3 separate regions of the Homo sapiens genome follow, and all the other regions are linked to region 1. The links are contacts of gene promoters, found by promoter capture Hi-C in blood cells and fetal thymus (Javierre and others, 2016). All regions are on one chromosome and are shown on one strand. The core of a region is centred on a gene start or on the middle of the fragment in contact, and the rest is flanking DNA. Distances in the headings are between cores, read along the strand shown. Region 1 holds the start of SEC61G (SEC61 translocon subunit gamma). Region 2 overlaps FIGNL1 (fidgetin like 1). Region 3 overlaps ZPBP (zona pellucida binding protein).

Region 1 (4,079 bases), core at 1,051-3,550:
ACATGTTATATACTATATTATATACTATATACTATACTATATATATACTATATACTATATATACTATATACTATATACTATATTATATACTATATACTATATTATATACATGTTATATTCTCTATTATATTACCAGCTCCTAACTCAATGAATGAATAAAAGTAGACAAATTTAACACATGAATCATGATAAATAACAAAATTAACTTTCTAGTTTGGCAAAAACTATATTGTTGGTTTCATGTTAAGGTTTTGTTCGTTGGGGTGGGAGCTGAGTAGGGAGACTTCAAAGCTTTTCCAAAGAGAAAATATGTAAGATACTAAAAGTCATAAAATGTTACTAACTAAAATGTTACATGGAACATAAGGCTGTAATAAATAATCTTACACCATTTGAAAATACATAAAAATTTAGACGAGTAAAAAATTTAGGAAGAAGTGACAACGTTAAAAAGCTGTCGCGCAGGATCAATCAATAAAAATGTTGATCAAAGTAATGCAAGGGCTATTAATCAAGATGTTAATCAAACAAAAGGCTTAGAAAATGCAAAGATTTAATTTTTTCTCTCATAGTCAAGCAATTACCTTTTCTATCAGGTTTAGTGCATCTTTTAACCAGCCGAATGGAGTCCTTTACAAACTGCCGACTTGGCTCAACAAACTGCATTACCTGATCCATGACTGCCTGTTTAAAACAAAAAAGATACTCACTGGTATTGGTTCTCATACAATAAGCACTTGCTCATTTATATAAAGATGTAAATGAGACCAGCCACTGAATTCACGTCTAACATGGGTCAATTCCACCTCCTAAAATAAAACAAAAAACAAACTCCAAAGCCTAAATTGATATTATTTTTGGAAATTTCAGTTAATTATCAAAGGCAATAAGAAAAGCACAGATCTTACTCATGATATCTTCACTGACAAAGAACAGCACACGCAATATAAAAAGCCTATCTCTATTAAAAGGTTAAAAAAGGTTACGCAATTGGTAACACATCCATTCCTTTTCTCACTCTGCAGTCCCATCCATTTCTCATTCTACAGTCCCCTCACCGCTCCTAAGGAACCATCAGTGTTGAGATCCAACAATTACTTTCCATATTTTATTTTAAACTACGCAGAAGCCAGTGTCTTGTACAGTGAATGCCAACTACGGTGCTGCAAGAGCCTAGAATAGAGGCAAACGTGAATTTCAACCTTGATTTTTCTAAAACGTGCCAATACAACATACTTTTCTAAAGTATAAAGAATGGCTAAAGGAAGACGCAAATTCTGAGAAGCTACTAGCTAAATTTCAAACTTTTCGATTTGAACACATCTTTTAAGGAAACAGGGCTATATATTTTACCATACAGGTTCTTTTGAGGAATCTATTACCCAATAGAAATGTTATCCGATCTTAGCTTTGAGAGCCACTGCTATAGTAAGTAAAGCAGCCAGGGTGTTATTTGTATTTTCCTCCATTTCCAGTACTCAGAACAGTGGCCAGGTGGTAGTTCAAATCACTGGCTATGGAATGTAAACCTCTGTAAGCCCCAGTTGCCTTCCTTAGTGTAGGGTGTGGACAACGAAATGAAATAATGTCAATGAAACACCAGGAATTCTGCAACGTTCTGGGGGCAAAAACACAGTAATGTCTGTTTTCTCAGTATTTCACTCAACTTTGCTCTTGAAATCCAAAGGGCTTAAACTTTTTGTAATCATAGTTGTCACGAAGGAAGCTAAGAATTCTTTATCCAGAAAAACGCACGCTACACACAATACCGCACTCAATGTCAGGGGTAGAGATCCAAAAACCAACTATGATCTCTCGAACTAGACTCTAGACCAATGCTCTCACTTTAAACCACGGAAGCGGCGGCAGGACCAGAGCTGAGTACAGCTCTTCCCAGACAGGACTCCACAACAGCACACAGAGCCAACCCCGAAGGGATCGGGCAGCAGGACATCATCTTTGGCTGCAGCACAGAAGACGCCGGGGCAGGACGCTAAGCCCTGGAGCCCCGCGGGCCGGCCACCCAGCTCGCCGGGAGTCCGCGGCCCTGGGTCTGCCTTCCGCCAGAGGCCGAGTTGGTGGGATGTCGGCGGCCAGACCCCGGCCCTGAGCCAGGGGACCACTTACCGCCCGCCCCGCGACGGCCGCCCGGGGAGACACGCCGGCTCGCCCACGCCCGCTGCCCCCAAGAGTCGCAAAGGTGTGGCCGCCCCGTTCGCCCGTACCGACCGGTGGGAAGAAACTCACCTACCCAACCGACACCTAAAATGCCAGGGACACGTAGCACTGGAGCTTGCTGATGGAGGCCCACCGGAACCGGAATCCGGGTTTCTGCCAACAGCCCGCCCACTCCTCCGTCCTATTGGTTCCTTACGCGAAACCTCAGTGCGCAAGCGCAGCGCGACGTGCGCCCGGCCACGCTTCCTGGAAGAGATGCATTGCGGAGCTCGCTAGTTGGGGCGTTGGCCTTCCTTAGGAGTGTGAGTCTAGCGTTATCCCTTTTTTCCGGCTGGATCCCGGGTTACCCCACCAGCCCGACCTCAACCCACTCACGTCCACAGCACGAGCCCCAGCGGCCTTGCGCGGTGCTTGCTCTCTAGTAGCGGCTGACTAGGTAAATCCTAAGTTGTGGTTTTTTTTCCTGCGGTCCAGCTTGATGTGTGTCCTTACGGTACATACTTTTTGTATGTATATAATGTTGGTCGAAATGAAGCTTATGAGCAATATAATGTTATGGCCTAATTCAAAATAGTATCCCCACCCCAAACTTTGACTTTGGCTGTCATTCACGGTAATGAATGCCGCTGTAATTGAGGCCTTTGTCAAACGCTAGGTTTGGTTACGGGAGTGGTCATAATGTACACACAGCTCCCCACTTACCCACAAGGATGCATTCCAGGAACCCCCCGCCGGATGGCTGAAACCGTCAGTAGAGACGGGGTTTCACCATATTGGCCAGGCTGGTCTTGAACTCCTGACCTCGCGATCCACCCGCCTCGGCCTCCCAAAGTGCTGGGATTACAGACGTGAGCCACCGCGCCCGGCCATGTTTCCTTTTAGCAATGGAGCATAACGGGATCTGAGGAACAATATAACTCAGGAAGAGCTGATGGAACATTAAGACGTGTTACAACTCTCAGTGCTTCTTAAACTTCTTCAGTAACTGAAATCTCCTGTTAAGTTTTTTAGTAAATGAAATTTGTAACCCCAGAACCTCCAGATATTGATTCAGTGGGTCAGGGTTAGAGGTCACACACCTCCGTATATCTGACTGTAGGTGGTCCATACACACTACACATACCTTGCCTTAGCTTTAAGAGTCACTTTTAAATTCTGAACAGACTGAGATGCGTTTGACTAGTTCTTCATCCCTGGGACTTCAGCCCATGTGTCATCTCCTTAGAGGCCTATAGTGACCATCTAAGGCAATCCTGTCTATCTCATGCTCTTTTTTCCTTTTTCACAATACCTTCTTCATTTGCTGCATAGCATTTGTATTAACATTTATTTATTTATTCCTCGGTCTGTCTCCCTACACTGTAAATCCCCTTACTAGACCATAAGCTCCAAGTGGGTATAATATAGCATCTAGTAAAGTGCTAAACACAGTAAATGCTCAATAAATAATTTTCAAAAAAATAATTCATTCCAAAAAAACATAAAATCACATGTTGGCAAGTTCACCCCAACCACCAAATGTCTGAGTTGACAGTATTTTCAGCAAAACACAGAAAATCAAGTAACACATACAGTGGTTCCCCTTATCCAAGAAAATCTGGTTCAAAAAGAGATGTGTACCAGAAGGTAATCTGGGAGAGGCCACATTCAAATAACTTTCATTACAGTGTATTGTTATAATTGTCTACTCACCTGATTTCGGGAGTTTGAGACCAGCCAGACCAACGTGGAGAAACCCCGTCTCCACTAAAAATACAAAAATTAGTCTGGAATGGTGTCGCATGCCTGTAACCCTAGCTACTCAGGAGGCTGAGGCAAGAGAATCCCTTGAACCCGGGAGGTGGAGGTTGCAGTGAGCTGAGGTCACACGACTGCACTCCAGCCTGGGCAACAGAGCAAGA
Region 2 (3,797 bases), core at 1,298-3,797, 4.3 Mb before region 1:
CTTATCTCTATTTTCTCATGTTTCTGTAATGAACATGTTTCATAAAACAAAATGGGTCTGTTATAAAAATCTGAAAACTTGTTTTTGAAAGAGAGCAGTATTACAGGCTGTAGTGTCAAATAAAATATTAATGTTAAATATCACACGCTCCCGTGAAAATAACCAACATTCTTAATTAACCTTTCAGTTCTGTGAATCTAATACTAGATCACACCTTGCTATTTCTGAAAATGTTAGTCCTGATAAAAATTAAAAACCATAAAAGAGGTAACAAATTGGCTGAAGAAAGTAAAAATTGGCACTTTAGCTTTGAGATCTTAAATCTACTTAAATAACACTAAGCAATACTTTGTCCAAATGTAAACCATTATACTAGCTGACATTAAGAATTATGTGGCCATCAGAAGGCACTTTCTTCAATAAAAGATGAATATTAATCAGACACAACTTTATATGTAATCTTCAACTAAAAAAAATTTGAGCTCACTTTTCATGTTATATAGCTTCAAGATAAAGACTTCTTAGAAACAAAAGTTCATTCTCACTTTGTTCAAATAGGCTTACGTATCAGGTAATCACTGGAAAGCAAAACTTACATTAACATACACTATGTCAATCAGATGTAAAATCTGTGCTATTATTTGAAGTACAGAACTTAGAATATATTCTTAAAAATACAATTAACACATCCCCAACTTTCTATGCTAAAAAATAAAGAAGACTGTACTACAGAGATGCCTTGATTCCAAGTATCCCACTTACTTTCCACAACCAAAAGTTTTGTTCCAGTTTTCATAAAGCTCTAAATCTTTTGGAGAAACACTAGGTCGCACAGTTCTAAAAGCATTTTCAAAATCAATGTAAGCTATGGGTCGAACTTGATCCGGTGTTATGGTAGCAATGTCAGCAGTTTGTAAACTGCGAATAGGACCAAGAGAAGCCTCCCTGCAAAGCTGTGTCATGTCTGCTCCTGAAAACGCATCAGACTGCTGTACAATCTGTTCAATTTCTTCTTCACTGAGGCAACACTGCTCTTTGGACATTAGATTAATTACTATCTGTTTCCTGGCTGAAGCTTCTGGGAGGGGAATATAAAGCCTTTTCACCAATCTTCTCCGGGCAGCCTCATCAATTTCTTGTGGCCGATTTGTTGCTCCCACCACTAGGATACGATCTTCAGAAGATGTTGTTGCTCCATCTAATTGAACTAAAAATTCTGTTTTTATCCTTCTAGAAGATTCATGCTCACCATCTCCCCGTTGAGATAACAAGGAATCAATTTCGTCAATAAATATCACAGCTGGTTGCTGACACCTTGCAACAGCAAACAATGCACGGACCATTTTCTCCCCCTCACCTACCCATTTAGAAGTTAAGGATGAAGCAGAGATGCTAAAGAATGTTGCCCCAGACTGACTAGCAATGCACTTGCCAATTAGAGTTTTACCAGTCCCAGGAGGACCAAAGAGCAAAATTCCTTTAGGGGGTCCCCTTAAACCAGTAAAGATGTCTGGCCTCAACATGGGCCACACAACTATTTCCTTTATGGTGGCTTTAGCAAATTCTACTCCTGCAATATCTTCCCAATTTACTGGAGGTCCATGATCCATAATCTCATTCATAATAAGTTCAATCATCTTTGGCTCCAAGTTCTTCAGACGCTCATCAACTGGATGTGCTGGTTCTGTAGGTCCTGCCCCATAAGGCTTACATTGCATTCCTCCATTCTGCTCTCCCCCATCTTGCTTGGGTATAGGAGGAACAAACTTTCCAAGTATCCCTCGGGATCTACTAGCTCCTAGAGACTTTTTTACACCACCATATGAAGACCCTGATGCACGCTGAGGTTGGTGGTACTTTTTTTGCTGATCTACCCATAATTGTTCTTTTGCAGTTTTAAATGTAGGCAGGCTGCTATCCTCCTTTGGGCCATTATCTTCTGTTTTACTACAAGCCTTATTCAGTATTGGATTGGAAAGTGCATCAATGGTGCCAGAACCATAAAAAGACTTCCTCTGTGGATTTTCACAGGCAGCAGGAAAACAAGACTGGTTAGATAAGAACACATTAAGTCCTATGTTTTCTTTTGCAGAGCTGTGATTTTCCTTTTTGACATTTCCAAACAATGGTGTGACATGGAATTTTGCAGTAGCTGACTCACCTACAGGTGCTGAGAATGTAGGACAAGTCCTAGCAGTGTTAGTCACCATAGGTGGCTGGGCATTCTGAAGGAGTTTCAAACGATTGCTCTCCGGGAAGTCTTGGGTCCGGTCTCGATCATGAGCTGAGTTAGGTAATGAGTCACTCTCTTGAGAACTACCACAAACACTAAATTTAGGAAGATCAAAGACAGTGGCCTCCTTATGGATTACCACTGATGCAAGAGCAGGTTCCAACAGAGAGTCTTTGAATTTTTTGCCAGCTTGCATCATCTTCTGTACACTACTCATTTTGAAAACATTATTTATTGACAATCCAGACTGCCACTTGTCACTATCTGTTTGTTGAGATCCTGCCAAAGTTAAAATGTTTTCTGCATAATTATTCAACCCAGATTCAACATTGTCAGAATCAATAATTGCAGAATATTTCTCTGCATATTTTTTGAACAGTTTGGTAGCACAGACCTGGGAAATCTCAGAGTTTGCCCATGCATACTGAATGCGTAATATCTGTGCACGGTATGCATCTGCCTTCGGTCCGGTACATATGCCAGATGTAATTGCGAAGTAATTCTTCTGCCATTCACTCAGGTGCACAGATCTAGAGCTGGAGGTCTGCATTTTAGAGGTTCTATAACAAACAATAAAAATGAAAATCAGTATGAAGGAAAACAAAGAAAATACTTTAAATGTAATTTTGAAACTTCTGCTAATCTGAAGGAAGGGACACTGGACTTTTTATTTATAATGTAGATTTATAAGGACAGGTTATAAGAGAAATATCTAGTTAACTATAGATTTCAAGTATTCAAGACATATCAATATGAAGTCTTCAAAATTAAGGACTTGATTAAATAATAATTTATATGAGTTAAATTGTTCTAGTTACATAATTTTATCTGTAGGGAAAGCATTCATAAGGTTTAAAATTAATTTTAAATTTTAAAAACAATGGAACTATAGATACATAAAGCAAAACAAAATAAACAAGAGGTTTAAGTCTGATCTATAAAACTAGGTGAATGAGCTTAAGTGAGCTTTTTACTATCACTGATGGTTTATTTTTATTTTATTATTATTTTTTTTTGAGACAGTGTCTCGCTCTGTCACCCAGGCTGCTGGAGGGCAGTGGCGCTCTCAGCTCACTGCAACCTCCACCTCGCGGGTTCAAGTGCTTCTCCTGCCCCAGCTTCCCAAGTAGCTGGGATTACAGGCACCTGCCACCACCCCTGGATAATTTTTATATTTTTAGTAGAGATGGGGTTTCGCCATGTTAGTCAGGCTGGTCTTGAACTCCTGACCTCAGGTAATCCACCCGCCTCAGCCTCCCAAAGTGCTGGGATTACAGGCGTGAGCTACCGCGCCCAGCTGGTTCTTCAGTTTTCTTATCTGCAAAGTGAGAGGAACCATTGGAAGAATCAAATCAAGCAATGACTATGAAAATAATCTGAAAACTATCATTATCCTTATCACACAAATGTACAAACCGAGGCTGAGAGACTTAAAGAACTTACTTGAGATCACACAGCCAGTTATGAATGGTATCAGAAATCGAACACAAGCAGTTTCACTCCAGGTACTGTGCACTTCTGCATGTACACAATGCTCCTTGATGCTGCTATCCTAGGTCACAGA
Region 3 (3,927 bases), core at 632-3,131, 4.7 Mb before region 1:
ACAGTACTTTTCAATTATGGAGGTTTTTAACAACTAAACACTGGCTGAGGCTGTTGGTTCACTGACTGGGTTAGGTGAAGTGAAGTGATCTTGTGGCATTAATTTTTTTGCCTCCCATGGCCACTGGTCTCCCATTTTTGTTTCTCCACATACATAGTATGAGGAAATTCTTAAGCTGCCAGCTATGTTTTCAGCTAGTTGAGCAAATATCGTTTTGGTTGATGGGAGAAGCTCAGGCACTGACTGATTAAAATGCTTTTAGAATGACTTATGGACCTGGAATTGCAGGGTTGGATGCATTTGAGTCCTTCTAGTCTTTTTGACAATTAGTAGTGGAACTCCAAGGCCTGTTCCTTTTAACTTGTAACAGTGCTGTCTGTCCTGTAGACCAAAAAGGTAGCTCTGGCTTTAAGACAGTAAAATTTAAAGAACTGCATGTCCTTGTCTTACAATTTCATTTGGTTGACATACTACTTAGTAGAGCAGTCTTTCCTGAATATAAGTGTTGGAGCTGTGTTAGCGTATTCCACTGAATGTTACAGTCTGGGCATCCAATTTGTGGTTTTCTGTACAGATGTTTAGGGCTGCTGCTGCTTAAGCCTCTCTTGTGTTAAACCATTGCAGACTGCTTCTGATTGTTTTAGGATTATGAACATATGCAGCATGGCAGGCATCAAAGTACAAGGAAATAGGCCTTTTATAGGAGAGAGGGTCTTCTTTGGTTTGAGCTATAAGCTCTCTTTCTTTTTTTTTTTTCTCTGATTTAATATGTGTTTTAAACCAGAATTTATAGGTTAAGAGCTTAGGGTCATAACATACATATAGCTGATTATTTCCTGGGTCACAGACTGAATAGGTGGTCTGGTTGTATGTGCAGGTTCCTAACCTGGTTCCTGTATATTTATAGTAGGTATGGTAGAGTTGTAACTATGGTATTCCTTACCCAGGTAGTGTCTACACAGTGTGGGCATTTTTCTAGAGATTTCTTCCCTTTTAGTATAGGCAGAAATGGTAAAAACATTAGCGTAGGTAATAGAACTATGCTTACACTACACATAGGCATGGCAAACATTCCTCTGGGCATAGACATTTGCAGCATTTGCAGTAATAACATAACAACAGAACAATCAGTACTGATAGAATTATAACTAGGCTTATACATTGTATTCACATTTACTTATCCAGAGATGGTCCTCTTAGCTTCAGCTGTGCATAGACTAGTCAGCTTTCGGGATGTGATTAGAGCAGAGCTTGCAGGATCCTCAAGCTTCAGCCATGCATAGACTGACCAGCCTCCAGTGTGGTCAGAGCAGGGCAGTTGTCCTTACCAGTGGCTGGGTTTCACTGTAGGACTATTCGGGTCGGGCGATCTGGGTCTTGTTGGCTAATCCACTGGTCGTCGTCGGGAGTCACTACTGCCGCTGATTTTAGCCAGCTATGGTGAATCCAAGGTGTGACACCTGCAACTTTAACAGCAGTGGGAGTAGACATGATCACAATATGGGGCCTATCTTATATGGGTCCTAGAGTGGTTAGACCCTATTTTTTAACCTAAACAAAGTCCTCAGGTTTGAAAGGGTGTACTGGGTCTGTTAGACTTACACGCATTTTTTTTCATACCTAACCATGCATCTTTTGCATGGCCATACTTAAAGCCTGCATTTGCCTTTACGTTTGCCTTTCCCTTTTTTTTAGCCTTTAGTGTTCTTGCTTTTTGGTGCCCCTTGCAGCACATCACAACCACCTCTTTGGGGGCCCATACAGCATTTAAGAGCTGTAGAATTTCTTCCTTGTACTTTATTTTTTTACTTCCAGCAGTTAAAATCTTTTTTTTTCCTTCGTAAATAGCCTCATGAACATGCAAAGCAGCAGAAGCATATTTGGAATCTGTGTAAATATTTGTCCTTTGGTCTTTTGCTAGCCAAAGAGTTCTTGTCAGAGATATTAGCTCTGCTTTCTAAGCAGAAGTTTCTATAGGCAAAGACTGCACTACTGAGTCCAAAGTCACCACTGTATACCTAGCTCAGCAGACTCCCTTTAATATGAAACTGCTTCTATCAGTAAAATATTCAATGTCTGGGTCCTTGAGGAGCTGATCTGTCAAATCTCTTCGGCTTGAGAACATTTCATCTACCATGTCCACCCAGCAATGAAAAGGGCCTCCTGTCACTGACTCGATGAGGAGCAACATAGCCGGGTTTAGAGTATTCACAGTCTCTAAAGTCAGTTTATTAGCTTCCTGCACCAGTAGGGCAGTGGCAGCTAGTGTTTTAAAATAAGGAAGCCATCCAAGTGCCACAGAATCTAATTGCCTGGATAAGTATGTCACTGGGTGATGCCATGACTTTATGACTTGAGTTAGAGTTAGAACTGGTGTGGTCAGAGCAGGGCAGTTGTCCTTCTAAGGACTTCTAATTTAGTAGTTGTCCTTCTAAGTTCTAACTTAGAGTTAGAACCTCTATGGCCTCCCTTTCACTTGTGGACATACAAGAAGAAAAGCTTAGTTAGTTAGATCTGGTAGTCCTAAAGCTGGAGCCTGAGTCAAGGCTTCTTTGATTTTTTTTTAAAGCCTTCTCCTGGTTGGCCTCTTAGAGGAGAGACTCCTTTTTTTCTCCTCTTTGTGGCTTTGTATAATGGCTTAGCCATGAACAAGACATTTGGCATCTAAATGTGGCAGAACCTTGCTGCCCTTAGGGACTCTCTTATTGGACGCCAGGTGGTTGGAGTAGGAAGTGCACAAACAGCCTGCTTTTGTTCACTCCAAGGCATCGTTCTTCTTGGCTTATATGAAAGCCCAACTACTGGACACTTTTAAAGCACATCTGAGCTTTCTCCTGACACTTTATAGCCTGTCTTTCACAGCAGGTGCAGGGGGTCTTGGGTTTTTCTGGGTGCAGTAGCCCTTGGCCAGTGTTTTTTTTTTTTTTCATACTATGGCCCTGACATTTATCCTTCTAGTGTGCTTTTCTTTTACATCAAGCACATTAATCTTTCTCTAGCCTCAGCCGGCTTTCAAACTCCTGTCCAGACTAGCTTTTTCCACGACTGCGTTCACACCTGCGTTCATGCCTCCTTGCAAAGCCAGCTTCTCTTTCCGTAAGGGTTGCTGCTAGTAAATTAGCCTTTTTAAAGCCTCCGATCAGCCTTCTGATCTCGGTTAATTTACATCTTGGTAGCCACTTTAATAAGCTGAGTAGCATTCACACCTATGGAGCTTCTAACTTCTGCAATTTATGCCTGGTATCTCCTTGGTCCTGCCTTACAAACACCATATTCACAATGTGCTGATTTTCAGCAGCCTCAGAGTTAAACGGAGTATACAACCGAAATGCCTCACAGTCTTTTATAAAATTGGCTGGTGCTTTTATCTGCACCCTGGAGCACCTCTGAGATTTTTATATTGGTTGCCTTTCTTTTACCATCCTTTAGCCTTTGCAGAACTGCTTCTCAGCACCTTTGTAGGTGCTAAAGCTCGACTGCATCATCTGGCTCTTAGCAGGGGTCCTCTTGTCCTCTTAAGAGGCATAAGCATAACTTGGGCACGGCCAGATCTGAGACGGCCTGCCTGACTTTTTGAGCCTTTCACTTTAATTTCCCTGAGCCCTGATTTCTCCTTCTCATGTGAGATTGACAGCCTGTATTCCTTTTAACTTAACTCCTTAGAGGCAGTTAGCCTGGTAAATGGGTAGATTGGAATGTAGGGAGGAGGGGTCTCTATTCCCTACTGTGGTTCTTGCAAAACTGGTTTTTCTGCCTTTCCAGAGACTTTTTTTTTGTCTCAGCTTCTGGGGCAGCTGATTTTTACTTTCACTATTGGCTTGGCGGTGCTACAAGCCTCTGTGACTTTCCCTTTAACTCTGTAGCTGCCAGCACAGCTAGTTTCTCTTGGCGTGAGCTGCAAGCATTTTACAATAAACTGCTAGGCAG

What was found. Contacts are between HindIII fragments. The CHiCAGO score rates a contact against its expected background, and 5 or more counts as called.
Region 2: a contact is called between a fragment that was not itself captured here and the fragment with the promoter of SEC61G in region 1, in 1 of 17 cell types (fetal thymus). The highest score is 6.9, in fetal thymus.
Region 3: a fragment that was not itself captured here is called in contact with the fragment with the promoter of SEC61G in region 1 in 1 of 17 cell types (total B cells); the score reaches 6.2 in total B cells.

Annotation. Positions count from the first base shown.
Region 1 is chr7:54,756,911-54,760,989 of GRCh38, forward strand. SEC61G (SEC61 translocon subunit gamma) reads right to left here and starts at 2,301. Exons shown (of 4, transcript NM_014302.4): 1 at 2,248-2,301; 2 at 585-684. The coding sequence starts at 678. SEC61G-DT (SEC61G divergent transcript) reads left to right here and starts at 2,403. Exons shown (of 3, transcript NR_110040.1): 1 at 2,403-2,614. RefSeq lists a silencer at 1,951-2,270 and an enhancer at 2,504-3,439. The HindIII fragment of the contact is 2,422 bases long and covers 290-2,711 here.
Region 2 is chr7:50,444,505-50,448,301 of GRCh38, forward strand. It overlaps FIGNL1 (fidgetin like 1), which reads right to left. Exons shown (of 4, transcript NM_001287492.4): 3 at 3,677-3,785; 4 at 1-2,793. The coding sequence starts at 2,783. The coding sequence ends at 759. Among named protein-coding and RNA genes, the nearest start is that of FIGNL1, 3.9 kb to the right of the region's middle. RefSeq lists an enhancer at 1,847-3,046. The HindIII fragment of the contact is 2,949 bases long and covers 1,074-3,797 here.
Region 3 is chr7:50,065,518-50,069,444 of GRCh38, forward strand. All of the region lies in intron 3 of ZPBP (zona pellucida binding protein), which reads right to left. Among named protein-coding and RNA genes, the nearest start is that of ZPBP, 26 kb to the right of the region's middle. RefSeq lists an enhancer at 3,763-3,852. The HindIII fragment of the contact is 1,232 bases long and covers 1,266-2,497 here.